Regions from separate parts of the Homo sapiens genome. Here region 1 is linked to region 2. The links are contacts of gene promoters, found by promoter capture Hi-C in blood cells and fetal thymus (Javierre and others, 2016). All regions are on one chromosome and are shown on one strand. Each heading gives the region's core, a stretch centred on a gene start or on the middle of the fragment in contact. The rest is flanking DNA. Distances are from core to core; before and after follow the strand shown. Region 1 overlaps PLEKHA8 (pleckstrin homology domain containing A8). Region 2 holds the start of GARS1 (glycyl-tRNA synthetase 1).

Region 1 (5,313 bases), core at 2,524-5,023, 530 kb after region 2:
GTGCTATAGAAATGTCAGCTCTCATTTTTATGGCAGATCAGCAGTTGCTAGATGGGGCAGACTCGGGAAATCACGTGGGGGCAGAATTCTTGAGGACTCATGGCCCAGAGAGAGGACTAACAGAAGGAGGTAGAACCCAACTGTGACACTGAAAAAAAGCCACAGAGAACACTAGCTCCCTCTCAAACCAGAAGCATCTAATTAGTTTATGTCACAGTTCATTTTTTTCTCCACACACGCCTCATGGCCCATGCTAGAAGAATTTCCTATAGATCAATGGTGAGAGTTCAGCCACTCCATTAGAAGCACTCTAAGGATGCTCCCCAATCTCAACATTTTCCAAAACTGGTCTGATAAATGGCTCTATCCACACATCCATCCATCTACCTACCTGTCCAATGTTTATTAAGCACCTACAATGTTGCAGTCACTACTTTAAGGTGCTGGAGATATAAGATGATCTCCTCTGACCAAGCCCTTCATCCCATTTTGGCTTTATGACTAGAAACTGGGACGCACACAGCATTATATATTTGAGGAGTTACACGACGACGACGAAAACCTTTACTCTTACTCCAGAACAAATCCCTGGGATTCCCCCACGCCAACCCGCTGTTATGGTGTTCAAGCTTTTCTTTGTATACTGATTTTCAAAGACTATAATATATTTGAAGATTTAGGAAAACTAACTTCTTGATAATATTAGGTCTTCCTATTATGTTTAAGAGATGGCTTTCCACTTATTCAGCACGTCTTTAAAATATACTGATTTTTAGTAAGTTACATCTAGATTACCAGGTCATTGTCTCATAGGTACTTTTAAACAAAGCATATAAGAAGCAATGAATAATAATGAAATAAGAAAAGAAACAAAATCAAATTCTGAAAAGCAGAAATATCCCCTATACCCTGTATCCTCCTCTAGGGGTCTCCATTCCACAGTCTATTGACTCATTCAACAAAACATAAAGAACACTTACTTAGGGCTGTCTGGATATCCTTCTCCCCATTTTTCACTTCTGTCAAAAATCCCTTCAAAAATTTGAGACCTCTAAAACAAAATAAAGGAAGAAATATTATTTTCAAAGTTCACTTATGTTGAGTGGGTATAAAGAAATGGCAGACATCAGCTTCCATTTCAGTAACATCTTAGGCACAGCAGTGAATAGGTCAAATCATATGGCAGTCCTTCCTGAACCTCTTCCCTTCACTTCCCTTTAGCTTGCTCTGGAGCCCATCTTTCATCTCATCTGATATACCTAAAGAAGTGGTTTTCAAAATGTGTCCCAGGACTAGTGGCTTTAGCATCACCTGGGAATTTGCTAGAAATGCAAATTCTGGGGCCCCACCCGAGTTACTGAATCAGAAACTGTTTCCGAGTCTAGTGTTTTTAACAAGTCCTCCAGATGATTCTGATGCCACTGAAGTTGGAGAGCCACTGATTTAAAGAGAAGCCAGTTGACTTTAATGCCTTTAAGATTCCTATCTTATATATACTTATCAACAATATTTATCACCATCAAAAGAGAGGCAAAAAAAAAATAAGGTGGTATTATTCATTAGGCCTTCTAGAAAAGGCTACACAATTCAACTAGATCCTTCACTCAGAAGTAGTCTCCTTTGTGTAACAATTTTTTTTGCTGGTAATTTTTTTTGAGCTAGATTTTAACTGCTGTCCCACCCCAGCTGCCTCACCTCTTCAGCCACAAGAGGGCTTCAGTCGCTGAGTTCCTAACCTGGGCTACATCCGCCTCCACTTCGTGCAGCACTATCTTCTGGAGAGTGGTAAACTCTTCTTTGTTGGTTATATACTTCTGATTTACTTTCTGGAGGGAAAGCAGGGAAACAACCTAAGTTTAAAATGCTGAAGTTATCAAGCAACTCAGTATAGTCTGGAGACTTGTAAGTTTGGCAAGCAGGCCTCTAAGAAAATAAATTAAGCTCCTATTACCTTCTTCCTTATGTTTTCATGATAGTATTTGTTTTGGAGAATTCTATGTAGCTTAAACTGGAATTAAATAGTCTCAGGGTTTAAAGTTTTGTTCTTAAAGTTATTTTTTCTGCCTCAGAACCTCTCTCATGCTTGTCTTTGGCAGATACTTTTCACTCTGAATATAAAACTCAACAATCATTTGTTCTAATGAGACTACTTGCAACTGTTCCACCTAAATACAATAAAGAAAGGTATACCTACAGGAATTCCTAATAGTGCTTCCTCAAAGACTAGTCTCCAATGACAAAAAAGATTTTTATTGGGCACTGTATCCTCAAGAAGGTAACATTTAATCTGCATTTAAAAGGGGACCCATCCCTTATTTTACCTGGAAGAAAGAGGCTCAGAGATTTGGTGAGTTGTTGATGGTCCCACAACTACCACTGGAAATGGGCCTTTTGAGTCCCAGACCACTGACAGCTATTTTCACTATATAACCTATCTTTTAGAAAAATATAACTTATCACCATTTAAACCTAAAAAAGCACAGAATCAGTGTGGACATTAGAGTGAAACCCTACTGATCCACACGGTGCACATGAAAAGGCAGTCCTGGTTTCATTTTAAAAATGAATCTTCTACTCCCCATAAAGCTTAACTCTAGCATATAATAAAGGCTTAGTAATTCCCTTACTGAGCATTCACAGTGTGAGAAGAAAGATGCTTGCTCTCTTAAAAGAACAGTGACACATTTTTCACTTTTTGATTTATTCTGGCCAAGCACAAAAATGTTGAGAACATTTTCCTTTATTTAAAAGTTTCCACAGAGACAAACCAGTATGCTCACCTTAATATTTCCAACAAGATCCATCTTAACAGGAGCAAACACTGTAGGGCCAAGTTTGTCTAGAAGAAAAGATTAAAAACATTTCTGAAAAAGCAATTTTTAAGTGGCAATATTTTTTATAATAAAGTAATAATAAATTTAGCAGATCCCCAACAACTTTAATTTTTGCTTCCAAATCATTTATCTAAACATAATCTTCAAAAGCTCCCAGGATACTATTACCATCTTTTTCTATTACACTACTCCAAGGTGAGTTATAATGAGGCCCTAAGTGACAGGTGAGATGAAGATAATCTTATAAGTTTAGGATTCATATAGTAATCCTTAGGGCTGCACTGTCCAATATGGTAGCCACCAGATATGTGGCTAGTTAGTACTTGCAGCGTGGCTAGTACTAACCAAAATGTACTGGAAGTAAAATACGTACCAGATTAGGAAGACTGAGTATGAAAAAGAGATTGCAAAATATCTCATTAATGATTCTTTCGGTTTGTTTGTTTTTTTGAGATGGAGTCTCTCGCTCTGTCCCCAGGCTGGAGTGGAGTAGCATGATCTCGGCTCACTGCAACCTCCACCTCCCAGGTTCAAGCGATTCTCCCTCAGCCTCCCGAGTAGCTGAGATTACAGATGCCCACCACCACGCCCAGCTAATTTTTGTATTTTCAGTAGAGACGGGCTTCACCATGTTGGCCAGGCTGGTCTCGAACTCCTAATCTCAAGTCATCTGCCCACCTCAGCCTCCCAAAGTGCTGGGATTACAGGCGTGAGCCACCATGCTCAGACTCATTAATGATTCTTTTTTCTGGGGGGACGGAGTCTCGCTCTGTCACCAGGCTAGAGTGCAGTGGCATGATCTCAGCTCACTGCAACCTCCGACTCCCTGGTTCAAGCGATTCTCCTGCCTCAGCCTCCCAGGTAACTGGGATTACAGGCATGTGCCATCACGTTGGCCAAGACGGTCTCGATCTCCTGACTTTGTGACCCACTTGCCTCGGCCTCCCAAAGTGCTGGGATTACAGGCGTGAGCCACCATGCCCGGCCCAATGATTCTTTTATATTTATTACATGTTAAGATATTTTAGATATTCTAGGTTTTAAAATAATTAAAATTAATTTGTGTTTACTATGTTAATATGCCTACTAGAAAACTTAAAATTACATATGTGGTTTGAATATTTCTGTTGGGCAAGAACAATGACTAAAAAATAAAACAAAGAGGTATAGCTAAAAAGCCAAAAGAGAAAAGATAGAGGAATTCTTAAAAAAAAAAAAAAAATACTTGATTGATCTAAAAGAAAGGCAGGGACAAAGATAGGTAGCTAAGAGGCCAAAAGAGGAAATAAAACAGAATACTAAAAAAAAAATTGATTAACTGGCTAGAGATCAGGAAAGGAGTAAAAAGGGAACAAAGAACATACAGAGAAAAGCAGAAAATAAGTAGCAAGATGATAGAAACAAATACCAAGATAATGAATGAAATTCATCCAAACAATGTAATTCATTACATTAACAAATTACAGGAAAAAAATGACTTCAGCAAATACAGAAAAAGCATTTTATGAAGTTAACTCATTCATGATTATAAAAACAACTCAGCATATAAACATAATTTGCATGTACATGCTATTAATAATCGGAAAATGAAATAAAACACTTTTTACAACAGAATAAAAAAATAAAATTCTAAAACTTATTCCTAACAAAAGAATATGATAGCTATACACTAAAAACTAGATAGAACATTCTTCAGAGAAAATTAAAATGACTTAAGTAAATAGATACAGCATCCTCATGGATTGGAAGACTCAATGCTTTTGTTTTTGAGACAGGGTCTTGCTCTGTCAACTAGGATGGAGTGCAGTGGTGCAGCCACGGCTCACTGCAGCCTTGATATCCCAGGCTCGTGTGATTCTCCTGCATCAGCCTCCCAAGTAGCTGGGACTACAGGCTTGCGCCATCACACCTGGCTAATTTTTTTCATAGAGACAGGGTCTTACTTTGTTGCCTAGGCCAGGATCAAACTCCTGGTTTCAAGCGATCCTCCTGCCTTGGCCTCCCAAAGTGCTGGGATTACAGTTATAAGCCAGTGAGCCCAGCCTTCGATGTTGTTTAAGATGTCAGCTTTCCCCTAATTGGTTTAGAGATATAATGTAATCTTAATCAAAATCCTAAAAAGCTTTTAAATAGGAATTGAACAGCTAAAATTTATCAAAAGGCCTAGAATTTCCATAACAATCTTGAAAAAGAAAAAACTGAGAGACTTACATTATCTGATTTCAAGCCTTATAATAATTAAGACACCATAAGATCATTGGAACAGAAAAGAGAGTCCAGAAACAGTCCCATATTATAAGCATTATAAGTTCAATTGGTTTTTGACAGAGCTGCCAAAGCAATGTAAAAAGGAAAACATATTTTGACCCACGGTTCTTGAGCAACCAGTTACCACAAGGAAAAAAAAAAAAAAAAAAGAACCTCAACTCCCTACCTCACACCACACACAAAAAATAATTCCAGTGGTTCATAGGCACAA
Region 2 (4,894 bases), core at 132-2,631:
AGCGAAGAGGACAGATGGCAAAGTGGCTGAATTTGCGGCAGCTATGCCCCAATGAATTATTTCCGAGATAGGGTTCCACCCTCTGTAGCTAAGGCAAATTATTGCATCAGGCGCCCATGCAGGAGAAACCCGTTTGGTGTTTACTACTAAGTCATGATCTCCGGGGTCCTACTGCAAGCTCTGGCTCTCCCTAATTGCATATGGGAATCATCTGAAATAATCTTTTCCTTGATATCTCTAAATTCTAAACTCTATGGCAGTGCCCTAGGAAAAGGAGGTCTATATTAAATCACCAAGTCCTTCAGCCCATGAAACCTTCCCTCACCTTCGGGAAAATCAAATGTCAAAATATTCCATACTAAGGATGGCTGACTTCACTCCGCAACACTTAGTTTCCCAGGTTTACGATCTGAGGGCTCACTGGTTCCAAACGGCCTTTTCAGAAGCCAGAAAAGATGACAAGAGCAAAGGATGATGAGTTCACAGCATTAATAGAAAAGTTCGACACCTCCCCACATCCACATTTCAATTCTATTTTCTCAGCCAATCATTCCGCTAAACTAAGCACTGAATGAAGGAAGATGTTAAGGGGGAAACACTATCAAAGCATCCTAAAGATTAAAGGGCCTGGCCGTAAGACGAAAGAACCGGCAGTTTTTCGGCTCATCATTGACCACTGAAAGAATTAGGAGGCTTTCCACCCAGGGTGCACAAAGAGTACAGCAGAGCCTGGAAAACTGAAGTTAAGGTTATTCAGTTAGGAGGCGAGGACAACCAAAGGGTCACAGATCCCAGCCCCACTGGAAATAGAGGAGACGCGGGCTGTGACAGAATGGGGAAGGGAGAACGGAGCCGGAGAGGGACGCAGGAAGTCGGAGGGGTTCCAGGGAGTCATCCAAAAAGAGAGGAGGACGGAGGTCCGCGGGAGAGGAGGTGGCTGACGCACGGGGGACTTGGGACCAAAGTGGGGGAGGCGAAGAAGACGCCAGAGGATGAAGGGAAAGAAAGGGGTAACCGAAGAGGAGGACAGTTCCCCGGGGAGGAGGGAAGGATGACCAGAAGAAGGCCCTGGGAGGAGAGCCGGAGGCTTAGCGGAGAGCGCAAAACACCGGTACCTGCTGGCGCACTGCTAGCCTCAGAGGTGCCAGCACCTCCTCAGCCCCCGCGCCGTCCATGCTGCTCCGGGAGGCGGCGGCGGGCAAGGAGATCGGGGGGCAGGAGGCCGCGCTGAGGGACCGGCGGAGCAGGAGCGAGGGTCGGGCTAAGAGCCGGGGCGGCAGCAGCAGCAGCAGAGCGGCGCGAGCACCTCTAAGCAGCACTGGACGCGGAGAGGGCATGAGCCTGCGGCCCTGGGCTGTCCAGAGAGGGTGGCGACGGAAGCGGCGCGCGCCGCCCGGCTCGGAGCATGATGAAATCGCCGCGTAAACGACGCGGCGCGCGTGCTGCCGCACATTCACCACCGCGTGACGCGGCGCCGGGTCGCCGCCGCAGATTCGACACAAAACCCGGAAGGACCCCGCCGAAGGTTTTCTCCGGTTCGGGAGAGAGGTAGGTAGGGTTGCGAGCGAACAGATTTGCACAGAAGTGCGTCAAGCCACCCCAGCAGGGTGGATGTTCAGGGACACAGCTCTGAGCGAGACCTGCAGGCCGAGACACACGAGAACCTTCAAAGCATAGGTTTTTATACGAGTGACACCCCGGCCGACCTACTTGAACGGACACTTCTGTTTCTGTTCTTTCGCGCCCTGCGCCTTAAAAGGGTCGCAAAACATCAAATCAGATAGGGATCTTAGACTTCTGTTGCTCAAGTGCAGATGTTCCCCAGATAAGGAAATAGGCCCAGAGAGGTTAATGATTTGCCCAGAGTCACACATTCTTGGTCCGCCGATGTCAAGACAAAAGCTGGCGAACGGGGGAGGAGGAGTGAGGGGATAGAGTCACCCCAGGCTTTCTGGAGAAGGTAAATTCCAATCTGCCCTTGCGGGGCGAGCAGGATTTGAACCGGCAGAGATGAGGAAAGGCAAGAGGTGCCTGATAAGTCTTTCTGCTTGGCATAGCCTCAGTCTATCTGCCTCCTGTGGTTAGGCCCCAGCTGACCAACCACCCAGAGATGGCTTCCCCCCGCCCCACACACCCAGTTCCTCCTGCCCAAAGGGTGGAGGGCCTAGAAAAGCTGGGTTCCCCCTCCAGGAAAGGAAGAGAAAAATGATGTGTTGGTTATAAAAACAGCATTGCGCACACCTGCAAAAATGGCTAAAATGAAAATGATGGAAAATGCCAAGTGACCCTCTGAGACTCCCCTACACTGCTCAGGGGAGTGTTAACTGGTGCAGCCAGCCACTTGGGAGCTCTTCGGCAGTATGCACGTACGTCTCCCTGTGACCCACAATCCCACCCCAGGAGTGTGCAGGAGTAGACGGGCTCAGTATAATGAAGTCTCCTTTCCTAATGGTGTGAAAGTCCATGTTATTTCTCTTCCCGTTCCAGTGTGCAGTTCTGGAGAAGTACTTACAATTCAACATGAGCAGGGTGGGTTGCTTAAGAACCTTCTGCAATATTGAACAATTATATTTTTAAACACTTTTATTTCAAGATTTGATATTAATTATAATTTATTTGGCTTTTATTTTACTAGGCAATTTTGAATTTATTTTAATATCTTTAAATGTGAAAAATCATTTTAAGTTTTACTTTTATTTTTATTTAGATTTTTATTAAAATGTTGAAATTCTATATCCTTTGAATAAAACTATTTTATTTCTAAAAAATTCCTTAGATCAATAATGTCTCATCCATTTTCATGTTAGGACAGTCCTGAAAGGACTCCAAATCCGTTCTTCCCTCCTCCCCGACCAATTCATCCTCCCCACTGCTGCTTCAGTCATTCTTTCTTTCTTTTTTCTTTTTCTTTTTTTTTCCAGACGGAGTCTCGCTCTTTCACCCAGGCTGGAGTGCAGTGGCGTGATCTTGGCTCACTGCAACCTCCGCCTCCCGGGTTCAGGCGATTCTCCTGCCTCAGCCTCCTGAGTAGCTGGGATTACAGGCGTGCGCCACCACACCCAGCTAATTTTTTTATTTTTAGTAGAGACGAGGTTTCACCATGTTGGTCATGCTGGTCTCGAACTCCTGACCTCGTGATCCGCCCGCCTCAGCCTTCCAAAGTGCTGGGATTACAGGTGTGAGCCACTGCACTCGGCCCAGTCATTATTTCTGAAAGGCAAATCTGACTGTGTCCCTTCTCTTCTCAGGACACTTCAGTAGGCTCTTCATGGCCCTTGGAAGAATTTCCCAAACAGTTTTCTTTTGAAAACTGTGTCTGCACAATAATGATAATAGTTTATGTTTGTTGAGCACTCACTATGTACCAGTTAGTTCTAATTTATCTCATGGAATTTATTCACCAATTTAGTGAGATAGGTTCTATAGTTATTCAGAATTTTCACATGTGGGATTCAAGGGACTGAGATATCAAACAGCTTGTCCATGGTCACACAACTAAGTGAGTGTTGGGCCAGAATGTGAGCTGGGGGCAGAGGCAGATTTTCTACATAGCTAATGAAGCTTCAAGTGAGTTTAGCCCCTTTCTCTGTTGGGCTCTTTAAGTGCCCTGCAAGAGGCCCTAGTATTGTGTATGTATGATCATATATTTTTCTTGCTTTATTAAAGTTCATTTCTTTGAGGGAAATAAATTTTGCATACATTAAAATGAACAAAAATGTATAGTTCAATGGGTTTCGACAAAGCAATATCCTTTTGTAACCCCAACACCAAGCAAGATAAAGAACATTTTCCCCTGACTCCACAAAGTTCCCTTGCATGTCATCCCGGTCATCCCACCCTCCACAACCAGGCGATCACTATTCTCATTTATTTTCCTCTTAGATCTAGACTGTTGTATAAATGAAATAATGTAATATGTACTCTGTGTCTGATGTCTTTAATTGACCATAATGTGTGAGAGATTAATCCATATTGTTTCACATATCAGAAACTTGCCCTTTTTTGCTCTGAAGTATCCCATTGTGTGAATATACTATAATTTATTAATTTATTCACTAGTTGATAGACATTTGGGTTGTTTCATATTGTAGACCATTATGAATAATGCTGCTGTGAACATTCTCATACATCTTTTTTTGTAGCTATATGTTTTCATTTCTCTTGGGTAAATATCTAGGTGCGGAATTACTGAGTCAAACAATAGATGCATATTTAATTTTATTAGATTGTCACAAGTTTTTCCAATGTGGTCGTATTATTTTATGTTCTTAAGAGCAATATATAAGAGTTCTAGTTGCTCCACATCCTTGTTAACATTTGATGTTGCCGGCCTTCCAGATTTTAGCTATTCTAATAGTTGTATCTCATTGTGACTTGTATGCATTTTCCTGGTGATTAATAGAGTTGATTGTGTTTTCATGTGCTTAGTGGTCATTTGTACCTCTTCTTTTGTGAAACATCCACATTTTTTGTCTTTGCTTTTTAATATTGAATTATAGGAGATTTAGATATGCTGGATACAGTCCTTTGCTAGGTACATGTTTCATAAATATTTTCTTCCAGTCTGTGGCTTGCCTGTTTGTTAATGATGGTTTTGATAAGCAGAAATTTTTAATTTTGATGAAGTCTAATTTATCAATTTGTTTTTTTTCTGGGTTCTAAAAAATCTTTGCCTACTCTCAGATATTCACCCATATTTTTGTCCAAAATTTTAGTAGTTTTATGTTTAGGTCTATGATGCATCTTGAATTAACTTTTGTGTATAGTTTTAGGTAAGAGTCAAAGTTCATTCTTCCCATATAGATATCCAGTTGCTACAGCATCATTTGTTGGAAAAAAGTAGGGCTTACAAAAAATTACTGCCATTGATCAGCTCTAGTGCCTTTGTCAAAAA

What was found. Contacts are between HindIII fragments. The CHiCAGO score rates a contact against its expected background, and 5 or more counts as called.
Region 1: a fragment that was not itself captured here is called in contact with the fragment with the promoter of GARS1 in region 2 in 5 of 17 cell types (non-activated CD4 T cells, total B cells, activated CD4 T cells and 2 more); the score reaches 6.8 in non-activated CD4 T cells.

Annotation. Positions count from the first base shown.
Region 1 is chr7:30,058,410-30,063,722 of GRCh38, reverse strand. PLEKHA8 (pleckstrin homology domain containing A8) reads right to left here. Exons shown (of 14, transcript NM_001197026.2): 10 at 2,781-2,839; 11 at 1,696-1,826; 12 at 981-1,051. Among named protein-coding and RNA genes, the nearest start is that of PLEKHA8, 33 kb to the right of the region's middle. The HindIII fragment of the contact is 2,370 bases long and covers 2,589-4,958 here.
Region 2 is chr7:30,591,365-30,596,258 of GRCh38, reverse strand. It overlaps GARS1 (glycyl-tRNA synthetase 1), which reads right to left and starts at 1,381. Exons shown (of 17, transcript NM_002047.4): 1 at 1,116-1,381. The coding sequence starts at 1,337. RefSeq lists a silencer at 90-189 and enhancers at 85-698, 699-1,312, 1,333-1,682, 1,313-1,926. The HindIII fragment of the contact is 4,590 bases long and covers 1-3,563 here.